Regions from separate parts of the Homo sapiens genome. Here region 1 is linked to region 2. The links are contacts of gene promoters, found by promoter capture Hi-C in human tissues and cell types (Jung and others, 2019). All regions are on one chromosome and are shown on one strand. The core of a region is centred on a gene start or on the middle of the fragment in contact, and the rest is flanking DNA. Distances in the headings are between cores, read along the strand shown. Region 1 has its middle 37 kb from the start of CYP2B6. Region 2 holds the start of CYP2F1 (cytochrome P450 family 2 subfamily F member 1).

What was found. The method cuts DNA at HindIII sites, captures the fragments that hold promoters and counts their contacts. A contact is called where the count stands out against the background at its distance.
Region 1: a contact is called between a fragment that was not itself captured here and the fragment with the promoter of CYP2F1 in region 2, in 2 of the 25 tissues and cell types used here (IMR-90 fibroblasts and stomach).

Annotation. Positions count from the first base shown.
Region 1 is chr19:40,950,989-40,956,639 of GRCh38, reverse strand. No RefSeq gene overlaps it. Among named protein-coding and RNA genes, the nearest start is that of CYP2B6, 37 kb to the left of the region's middle. The HindIII fragment of the contact is 3,838 bases long and covers 1-3,626 here.
Region 2 is chr19:41,109,595-41,115,860 of GRCh38, reverse strand. CYP2F1 (cytochrome P450 family 2 subfamily F member 1) reads right to left here and starts at 1,429. Exons shown (of 10, transcript NM_000774.5): 1 at 1,369-1,429. The HindIII fragment of the contact is 13,902 bases long and covers 1-6,266 here.

The DNA of each region.
Region 1 (5,651 bases), core at 458-2,957, 160 kb after region 2:
TGGCCCCTCTGTCCATTTCCTGGCAAGGGCTGTCCGCTGTTATCAAACTTTGAATGACAGTGATTAGCCCAGTGTTTTCCTTTTTTACATCTGGGACAGGTACCTGGTTCCCTGCTTTTTCCTCCTAAGTTTTGCCTTTTTTGTACACTCTCTTTTTGTATGTCCTATCTGTCCACAATTATAGCAAGATCTGGGGAACACTCATATGTTTTTTGTTACCCTTAGTCTAGCCATTGCCGGAGCAAGAAGGCTGGCCTTATTCAAGTGCCTCCAATGCCATCACAGGCTTTAATGTATTCACTTAAAGTTTTTTCCTCATTTAGATCTGCCTTTCCCTTAATAGGTCTAATTTCTGCCTGACATTCTGTATCAGCATTTTCATAAGCAAGCAGCTGAACTATCACTTTCCTGACATGAGAATCCAAAATAGCCTTTTGAGCCGTGTCTTGCAAATGGGTGATAAAATCTGGATAAGGCTCCTTTGGACCCTGTTGAACTGAGTTAAAAGAAGTATAAGTAGTACCAGGGTCGTGAATTTTTTCCCAGGCTCTGAGGCATATAGTTCTGAGCTGATCAACAGTCTCATCACCCATTACCATCTGTCAATTTAGAGTACCCCATGCCTGTCTGATTCCAAGCAAGTGATCAGATGTGATATTAACAGGAGGTTGGGCTTGAGCATTTCTGCATGCCTGATTTGTTGTTGCTTGATCTGTCCGCCAGGTTTTAAATTGGAGAAACTCAGTGGGGGACAGGGTAGAGTGGGCTAATGCCTCCCAATCCATAGGTATTAAATGCCTGTTATAAGCCACAGATTGTAACAAGGAATGAACCTAAGGAGAATTTGGCCCATATTGTCCAATTGCTTGCTTTAAGTCTTTTAATATTTTAAAAGGAAATGGCTCCCAGCATGCTTCAGCATGTTGTCTGGGCTCCTCAGCTGGAGAAATAATTACCAGAAACTGCCAAGCATCCAAATCCCCCACATCTCATGCCTGGTAAATAGATGCCTGGATTGTCCCTGCACCGTAATTTGTATTTGGACCTGCTCACAGCATTCCTCTACCATAATTAAAAGGTGGACAAGCCTGGATCATTCCCTCACCATAATTGGCTGTTGGGTGAGCCTGAAGCTTCCCTTCAACATAGTTAATTGTGGGGCATGCAACAATGGGAGCAGCAAGTCATGTCTCAGGCTCCCATTCCAAAAATTCATAAGGCTGAGGCGGGGGTGGCCATTCTGGACCTTCCCCTAAAGGCGCAGTGGGTGGCACTGTTTCTGCAGTAGGTGGAAATGTTTCTTCTATAAGTTTTTGGAGGTTAGCATATATCCCTTTCTCCCCCTTTTTAAAACTAAACTGTGATGGTTCACTTTGCAGATCATCAAACTCCTGATTATTAAACTTTTCTATGTCATCCTGAAACTTCTCATCCTCCTCAGTGTGGAAAGGCTCCAGTGGTATTTTGATTGCTGACCACACAGACCAAGCAGACAAGGGAATATTGTAGCCCTCTTGTTGTGCTCATTTTAAGTCTGCTCCGAACTTGTCGCAGTCTTTTACATTCATGGTTCCATATTCCGGGAACCAAGGGGAATACTTTTCTATGAGCTGGAACAAAGATGTGAGATTTTGGGTACTCACAATTGCCCCTCTGTGGCACAATAACTGCCACACCAAGCTTAAGTAATTAGCAAATTTACTCTCAGCCTGACCCGTTTTCCCGAGGTTACCGTGGAATTCTCCAAGCACACTACTTATCCACAGAGCTTGAAGTGAAAACATATTCAGGCACCCTTTTTCTGTCATCTTCCACTTTCCATGCTCTAGCATTCCTTCACCAGATTATTTGTAGAGATAACGGGGAGTCCCACGTTGGGCGCCAGATGTTGGGGAAACCAGCCCCACACCACCCTGCAGGTACCGCGAGTCCAACGGAGACTAAAGAGTTAGAAAGAAACAGAGTGAGAATTTAAAAGGTGGGTCCGGGGGACCAGAGTGTCAGAGGCTTGCTCATGGCCCAGAGCTCTTTGGCTCTGCCTAATTTATTGGCTTACAAGCTCTTTGTTCTTAGGGCAGATGAGAAGGCAAGGAAGGGATGAGAAAAAGGATTAATCAATGAAGGAGAACTCGTGAGTTATTCAATAAGATGTAGAGCAGTGGCAGTTTCTGTGAATTTCCTTGAGCAAAGGCGTGTGTCTAAACTACTTAAAATCTTATCAGGACTGAAATGGGTGGGAGTGGGTTTCAGAAGAAGCCAAGATGTTTGATTGTACTTCACTGCTTTAAGGAAGTGTTATCTCCCTGAGCAACCTGTGGAATGCCGCTGAGCAGGTATGCTCTGGGAGCATAAAGACATAAAGACAATAAGGAGACTTTTCTCCTCAGAGGCCGCCCATGGCTCCCCATGGGTGTCTCACATAGGGGAGACCAACTCATCTGGTACTCCAGAAACTCTCTTTCCCACACCAGCTTGGCCTGGGAAGCCTTGTGAGCAGCCGGCACGTCATTATTTTTCTGATACCACTTCTGTACCAGGCCCTGACAGACCTGATCTCTTTTAATCCCAACAAGAAGACTCAATGATAATTGTTACAGTGCATTCTTACAGTGCACAATGATATCCCAGACACTTTTTGGAAGTGCAAAAAGCTCTTTGCACATACCTCACTGAATCTTCAAACAGCCCCACATTAGAGGTGCTATGATGATCTCTGCTTACAGAGGCAGAAATAAGGCACACAGAGGGCTTAAGTCACTTCTCAAGGGCACCAGCAAGGAGCTGGGATTCAACATCCAGACAATCTGGCTCCAATCAGTGATATTATCTCCTTCATTCCTGACAGACGGGAAGCTGAGAACTCTAAAGATGTGGCCCCCAGATTTGGAGAAGTGGGAGTTCTTATATAGATGTCAAAATATCACCCAAAGGAGCCAATGAACACCCTGAAATAGTCATGCAGCTGGGTGGCATTGTACCCACCTAGAAAAACTCCATGCAAGTATTTTGGATCCCTTGAAGGCTCAGCTCTTATTTACTCCACAAATATTTATTGTGAACCCTACTATATGTCAGGCACTTGTTCTGGAGGGTGGGGGAACCCACAGGGACCAAAGCAAACCATGACAACAGTAATAATTAAGTAAATGAGAACCTGCCAGGTGCAATGGCTCACACCTGTAATCTCAGTGCTTTGGGACGTCAAGATGGGGAGATCATTTCAGACCAAGAGTACAAGACCAGCCTGGGCAAAATAGCAAGACTACATCCTTTCAAAATATTTAAAAGTTAGCCAGAGGTGGTATCACAAACTTAGTCCTCACTACTCAGGAGGCTGAGATGGGAGGATTGCTTGAATCCAGGAGTTGGAGGCCGCAATGAGCCATGATCACACCACTGCACTCCAGTCTGGGTGATATGGTTTTGCTGTGTCCCCATCCAAATCTCATCTTGAATTGTAGCTGCCATAATCCCTACATGTTGTGGGAGGGACCCGGTGGGAGATCATTGAATCATAGGGGTGGTTTCCCCCATACTGTCCTCATACTAGTCAATAAGTCTCATGTGATCTGTTGGTTTTATAATGGAAAACCCCTTTCACTTGGTTCTCATTCTCTCTCTTGCCAGCGCCATGTAAGATGTGACTTTTGCCTTTCAGCATGATTGTGAGGCCTCCCCAGTCATGTGTAACTGTGAGTTTATTAAACCTCTTTTTCTTTATAAATTACCCAGTCTAAGGTATGTTTTTATCAGCAGCATAAAAACGGACTAATACAATGGGCAACAGAGCAAGACTCTGACTCTATAAATAAATAAAGACAGATGGATAGATACATAGATGATAGATACATAGAAAGATAGGTGATTAGATAGACAGATAGATATAGATAGATAGATAGATGATAGATAGATAGATGATAGATAGATGATAGATAGATAGATAGATAGATAGATAGATAGATAGATAGATAGATGATAGATAGATAGATAGGAAATAAGAACCCTGCCCTCCCAGAGCTGTCATTTTACCAGGAGGAAACATTATCAGAGGCAATGCCTGCTTGCTCCCGGAAGGTGCCAAGTTTGCTTTCTCACCTCCGGGCCTTTTACCTTGCTGTTCCCTCAGCTGAGAAGGCTTCTCACCACACCTTCTCATGGCCAACTCTCAGAAGCCTTCTCAAAGAAGCCCTCTCTGACCACTCAATCTGAAAGAATCCCCCATGGAACCTTTGTACACTGTTGGTGGTAATGTATATTAGTAGAGCCACTTTGAGGAACAATATGGAGTTTCCTTAAAAAAAAAAGTAGAAATAGGCCAGGCGCAGTGACTTATGCCTGTAATCCCAGCACTTTGGGAGGCTGAGGTAGGCAGATCACCTGAAGTCAGGAGTTCAAGACCAGCCTGGCCAACATGGTGAAACTCCATCTCTACTAAAAATACAAAATCAGCCAGGCGTGATGGTGGGTGCCTGTAGTCCCAGCTACTTGGGAGGCTGAGGCAAGAGAATGGCTTGAACCCAGGAGGCAGAGGCTGCAGTGAGCTAAGATCATACCACTGCACTCCAGCCTGGGTAACAGAGTAAGACTCCATCTCAAAAAAAAAATAAAATAAAATAAAAATAAACAAACAAAAAAGAAAAACATTAAAAATCGAGCTACCATACAATCCAGCAATCCCACTGCTAAGTGTATTCCAATAAAAGGAAATCTGTATACCGAAGAGATGTCTGCACTCCCATGTATTTCGCAGCTCTGTTCACAACAGCCAAGATATGGAATCAACCTAAGTGTTCATATGGTGCCCATACAGATGGGAGTACTATTCAGCCATTAAAAAAGAAAAAGATCCTGATATTTGCAGCAACATGGATGGAACTGCAGGAAGTTATGTTAGGTGAAATAAGCCGGGCAGATTCTGCTGTCACTCTTAAAAGACATGTTTCTCTGTTTGTTGTTTTATTTCTGTGGTTGGTGAGGGAATGTGTGCCATGCATTTGCACAGGCAGAGTCCCTGCTAACTCTTCAGAGGCTACAAGGAGCCTAAAGCTGGCAGGTGCTGCAGAGGCCAAAAGGTTAGCATCTCAGGGCTGAGTCCCAGAACCAGCTTCCCATTGGCCACAGGCTGGCTGATGTATCCTTGCGATAAAGATATTAAACTTGCAACAACTCCCTCAGGGAAGGGTGGTGGTCCTGCTGGTGGAATATGTGGAGGTTGTATTTATTTATTTATTTATTTATTTTTGAGATGGAATCTCGCTTTGTCACCCAGGCTGGAGTGCAGTGGTGGGATATTGGCTCACTGCAACCTCTGCCTCCTGCGTTCAAGCGATTTTCCTGTCTCAGCCTCCCAAGTAGCTGGGACTACAGGTGCGTGCCACCACACCCAGCTAATTTTTCTATTTTTTTAGTTGAGACAGGGTTTCTGTATGTTGGGCAGGCTGGTCTCGACCCCCTGACTTGAGGTGATCCACCTGACTCGGCCTCCCAAAGTACTGGGATTATAGCCATAAGCCACCGTGTCCAGCCTGGAGGCTGAATTTAGAGTGGTTCCACTTCAAGAATAGCGCTAAGCTTTATCAAAAGGTGGCATTGCAGCACAGGGGATTGAGAGTAACTGGCAGGCAGAACTGGGGGCATCCTGGGCCCTTTGG
Region 2 (6,266 bases), core at 180-2,679:
CTACAGATGTCTGTCTACCTATCAGCCATCTATCATCTATCACTCTTTCTTTCCTTCCTTCCTTCCTTTCTTTTTCTTTCTTTCTTTTTTCTTTTTCTTTCTTTCTTTGTTTCTCATCTATTATCTAACATCTATCAACATCTATCTATCATCTATCTATCTATCTATCATCTATCATCTGTCTATCCATCATCTATCTATTCTTCTATCATCTATCATTGATCTGTCTATTATCTATCATCTATTATCTATCTATATCTATCATCTATCTACTATCTTCATAATCTATCATCTGTGTATCATCTGTCTATTATCTATCTATCATCACCTGTCTGTCAAGAGACTGTCATACAGAGACAGTGATAAAGAGAGATCAAGACACACAGGGACAGAGACAGACAAACACAGAGATAGGGAGAGCCAGAGAGCACATCACAGAAAGAGAGAGGCTGACATAGACTAGAGAAAGAAAGAGACAGAACTAGACAGACACAGAGCTAGAGAAAGACAAGGGAGATTGAGTGGAGAGACAGTGAGATGGACACTGACTGAGAGACAGAGAGGGACATGGAAGGATGGAGAGAAAAAGGGTAAGAGGGACAGAGAGAGGGAGAGACAGAGCTAGACACAGAGACTGAGGGAGACGAGAATGACAGACAGAAACAGATACACAAAGACAGAGTCACATAGACAGAGATGGAGAGAGAGAGAGAGAGAATAAGAGAGGCAGGGAATATTAGAGCCACACAAAGAGACGGGTAGGCTGCAAAGGGCAGACCAAGAGAGACTGAGGCCGGGCACGGTGGCTCACGCCTGTAATCCCAGCACTCTGGGAGGCCGAGGCAGGCGGATCACTTGAGGTCAGGAGTTTGAGACCAGCCTGGCCAACATGGTGAAACCCTGTCTCTACTAAAAACACAAAAATTAGTCAGGCGTGGTGTTAGGCACCTGTAATCCCAGCTACTCAGGAGGCTGAGGCAGGAGAATCGCTTGAACCCAGGAGGTGGAGGTTGCAGTGAGCTGAGATTGAACCACTGCACTCCAGCCTCAAAAAAAAAAAAAAAAAAAAAAAGAGAGAGAGAGAGAGAGAAAGAGACGGAGACAGAGAGGAAGGGCACAGGCAGAAACAGTGACAGGAAAAAATCAAGTGTTGCCAACCATGGGGTTGCATTGCAGAGAGAGAAGCCACCTACTTGGTGAAGCACCAGTAAAGAAATCCCAGTGCTCAGAACAGGGACATGAGAGCTCTCAGAGGAAACAGCAAAAAAGATTCCTAGCCAGTCTCAGAGACAGAGATTGGAGCTGGCGACCCACCCTCTCTTGGGAGACACCCCCTCCTTCTCTGCCTCCCTCACCGGGGCCCTTTACCTGCTGAGCTGCAGGAGACACTGGCTGGGATGCGCTAGAGCCTGCAGCTCTGGGTGTGCTTGGGGGGTGGTGGGGCAGAGGTTGTTCTTAAGTTGTTTCTGCCCACACCCTCCTCCTTAACCCCACTTTTCTTGTTCTCGCTGTGAACTTTAAATCCCTCCCATCATCTTGCCATACCTTTCCTGCGGCCCTAGGGCTCACAGCCAGCTGGAAAGGTGCCGTGGGAGGGGGCTGCGCCTGGGGGCCCTCCTGGGATGGGGCAAAGCTTTCTTTCTTTCTTTGTTTTTTTTTTTTGCTTTGCCAGTTGGAGCCTGGGCCTGGTTTTGGGGTAGTCATGGGGCTGTCGCAAAATGATGGGCCAGGGATGGGGGCTGGGTTCCTTTGGTATTTGGGGCACTTGTTTCTTTTTCTCTGGGTTCAAGTCCATTTCTGCCACTGATGGGCCGAGTGGCCCTGGCTAAGTCCCTTTCCCTCCAGAGCTGGAGTTTTCTCTTTCTCTGGAAGCCTATTTTTTCATAGTTCTCCATGCTGTTCCCTGTCTCTTGCCGTGGGTCTCTGAAATGCTCTGTGTCTTGCTTTGCTTCTGCCTCTACAGTCTCTGCCTCTGAATCTTTTTGTCTCTCTGTGTCTCTGTCTCTCCCTCCTTTGGTGTCTCTGGGTCTTCATTTCTTATGCTCTCTGGGCTTTCTCCTTCTCTCTGCTTCTCTCCCTGATCTCCCTGTAAGTCCCTCTCAGTCACTGTCTCCTGATCTCTCTGGTCTCTCACTCTCTCTATCTCTCATGTCTCCACGAGTCAGACTGCACTTGGTGGGACTGAAGCCAAGCTGAGGCTGAAGGAGTGTTTAAGAAAAGGGCAGAGCTGGAAGCCACAGGGAAAAAGCCTCTCAGACTAGAATGACACTCTCTCCCACCACTGGCTCATAAACAGCCCTCCTCCTGCCCTCCTGAGCACCCTACTAGCCATGTCTACTCTCAGCTCCTGCCTTAGAAACTCACCCTAGTAGGCCAGGCGCAGTGGCTCACGCCTGTAATCCCAGCACTTTGGGAGGCCGAGGTGGGTGGATCACCTGAGGTCAGGAGTTCAAGACCAGCCTGGCCAACATGGTGAAACCCTGTCTCTACTAATAATACAAAAATTAGCCAGGCATGGTGGCTCACGCCTGTAGTCTGAGCTACTTGGGAGGCTGGGGCAGGAGAATCGCTTGAACCCGGGAGGTGGAGGTTGCAGTGAGCTAAGAACATGCCACTGCACTCCAGCCTGGGCAACAGGGTGAGACTCGGTCTCAAAAAAAAAAAAAAAAAAAAAAGAAGAAGAAACTGGCCCTAGTTACCCACCTCCTGGCCAGGTCACAAGGGCAGAATGCAAAACCTGGAGCTGGGCCAGGGCTCTGGTGCCAGGGGCTAGGCTGGGTGGAGAGCCCCTGCGGTCAAGGGTCTGGGAGGCCAGGTGGAGGTGTGGGTACCCCCACAGGTTCGTGGGTGTGCACCAGGATTGCTGTTCTCAGAGGGGCAGAGGAGGAAGTGTTTGGAGGTCCTGGGGAATTTGACACCCTAGGTCCCAGGCATATGGTGGGGTGGAGGTGGGGCCCATGCTGTTGTTTCAGTCCTGGATAGGCCGGTTGGGGCAGGTCCTGGAAGAGGGCTGAAGGCTTGATGATGGGATTATATAGCTCTAGTTTCCCTTGGCGTCTACTCCCTACTTTTAAGGGGAGGGTGTAGTGCTGTATCCACGCCAACCCTGTAAGCAACTTATCCCTCACCCTAGAACTTGGTTAAGAGGGGCCTAATGAGGCTGGGCGTGGTGGCTCATGCCTGTAATCCCAGCACTTTGGGAGGCCGAGGTGGGTGGATCACCTGAGGTCAGGAGTTTGAGACAGCCTGACCAACATGGCAAAACCCTGTCTCTACTAAAAATACAAAAAAAATTAGCCAGGCGTGGTGGTGCTTGCCTATAATCCCAGCTACTCAGGAGGCTGAGGCAGGAGAATCACTTGAACCCGGGAGGTGGAGGTTGCAGTGAGCTGAGATTGTACCATTGCACTCCAGCCTGGGCAACAAGAGTGAAACTTTGACTCAAAAAAAAGAAAAAAAAAGAAAAAAAAGATGGGCCTAATGGGACCACCTGATTGGGGAAACTGGGATTTATGGGAAGGGCAGTTAGTTAGTTTGTTTTGACACAGGGTCTCACTCTGTCACCCAGACTGGAGTTTAGTGGTGTGATCATAGCTCATTGCAGCCTCGATCTCCTGGGCTTAAGGGATTCTCCTGCCTCAGCTTCCCAAGTAGCTGGGACTACAAGCACGCATCACCACACCTGGCTAATTTTTAAAATTTTTAGTAGAGATGAGATCTAGCATGCTATGTCACCCAGTCTGGTCCCCAACTCCTGGGCTCAAGCGATCCTCCCACCTGGGCCTCTGGGGATTACAGGCGTGAGCCACCATGTGTGGCCGAGAAGGGGGGTTTTAAGAGGCTTTGAGTTCTGTTATTCTGACTTGCTCTCCTGCTACAGAGGGAACTTGGGGCAAGGAAGGGATGTATTGCAATTTCTCAACTCACTGCTGTTGATGTCTTGGGCCTTCATGGGTGGTGGGGGCTGCATCCTGTGTGTGGTAGGATGTTTAGCAGTGTCCTTGGTTTCTACTCAGTAGATGACAGAACCCACCCACTCATTCCCTACCAGTTGTTACAAACAAACATGACTCCAGATACTATTGAATGTCCCCTTGGGAGGAAAAAAATCAACCCAGTTGAGAACCGCTGGGGTATTGCAGAAAGCTGAAACACACTCCGTGGTGGAAAAATGCCTCGCCTCTCATTGTCCTCTCTTGGAACTCCCCCCGCCCTATTCCTATCCTTTTGTTCCTGCCTCCTCAAACTCCAAAACCCTCTTCAGTCACCTCACTCTTTGTTGATGAACCCGCTTCTTATCTCACGGAGAGAATGGCAGCAATGGGCAGTAAGCGGGCGCATCCTCCATCATCCTGTCCTCTTGCCCACTGGCATCTGGACGGCACATGCAGCCTTCCTTCCTGCTAGAACCACACAGTGTCCCATGTCAGGCTTAGGTGAGCCCCCTTCTGGTGTGCCAGATCCCATTCCATCGCCAACTGGAGGACTTGATTCTATTTACTGTGTCATAGTTCCTGTGAAGGTGTGTAGATGGAGTTTTCCCTTAACGATTTCTTTAGGTAAAATTTACCTGTGATGAAATACACACATGGTAAGTGAACATTTGCTGAATTTTGAAGGTATCGAAATCCCTGTGAAGATACAGAATATTTTCATCATCCAAGAAAGTTCTCTTGGAGCTGGGCGTGGTGGTTTGTGCCTATAATCCTAGCTATAGGAGGCTGAGGTGGAAGGATCACTAGAGGCCAGAAATTTGAGACCAGGCTGTGCAACATTGCGAGACCCCTGTCTCTACTAAAAAAAAGAAAAAAACAATAGCTAAGTGTGGTGGTGCACGCTTGTAATCCCAGCTACTCAAGGGGCTGAGGTGGAAGATCACTTGCACCCAGGAGTTCCAGGCTACAGTGAGCTATGAACACACCCCTGCACTCCAGCCTGGGTGACAAAGAGAGACTCCCTTCTCTAAAGTAATAATAATAATGAAAAGAGAACCCTCCTTCCTACTCCTTCCTAGTCAACCATGCTCCATCTCTTGTGGGCAACCATTGTTCTAGGTTTTTTTCTCTTCTTTTGAGACAGGGTCTTGCTCTGTCCCCCAGGCTGGAGTGCAGTGGTGTGATCATTGTTCACTGCAACCTTGACCTCCCTGGCTCAAATGATCCCCCGGCCTCAGCCTCCTGAGTAGCTGGAAGTAGAGGCCTGTGCCATCACAACTGGCTAATTTAAAAATTTTTTGTAGAGGCAGAGGTCTCCCTATGTTGCCCAGGCTGATCTCGAACTCCTGGGCTCAAGCAATCCTTCTGCCTCAGCCTCCCAGAGTGCTGGGATTACAGGCTTGAGCCACTGCATCCAGCCCTGTTCTAGTTTTTTCTTCCCACTATTGATCTACATTTCATATAAATGAAAATCTACGGCTGGGCATGGTGGCTCACGCCTGTAATCTTAGCTTTTTGGGAGGCTGAGGCGGGTGGATCACCTGAGGTCAGGAATTTGAGACCAGCCTGGCCAACGTGGTGAACCCCTCTCTCTATGAAAAATACAAAAATTAGCTGGACTTGATGGAGGGTGCCTGTAATCCCAGCTAGTCGGGAGCCTGAGGCAGGAGAATCACTTGAACCTGGGAGGCGGAGGTGGCAGTGAGCCAAGATCATGCCACTGTACTCCAGCCTGGGCGACAGAGCGAGACTCCGTCTCAAAAAAAAAAAAAAGAAAAGAAAATCTACAGCATTTCTTCCATATACCAAGCCTGCTTCTGGGAAGCATACGTAATGCTTTTGAGAGTTAACCATGTGTTACATACATCAGAAGCTCATTCCTTTTCATTGCAGAGTAGCATGTCACCGCATATAGATGTGCCACAATTTGCTTTTCACCAGTTGATGGAAATGTGGATTGTTCCCAAGGTCTGGCTATTTTGAATAATATGTATTATTCTTGGCATATATGCATATGTCTTTGTGGGGATCTATGTTTCGTGTATCTGGATATATCTGTGAGTGTGACTGCTGGGTTCTATGATGAGTGTATATTTATAAGAAACTTCCAAACTCTTTTCCAAAGTGGCTGTGTCATGTTTTCATTTCCTGTGTGATTTGTTTTCTTCTCTCTATTGAATATTTTTCATAAAGAGCCAATAAGCTGGCCGGGCATGGTGGCTCATGCCTGTAATTCGGCACTTTGGGAGGCTGAGATGGGCAGATCAATAGAGATCAGGAGTTCAAGACCAGCCTGGCCAACATGGTAAAACCCCGACTCTACTAAAAATA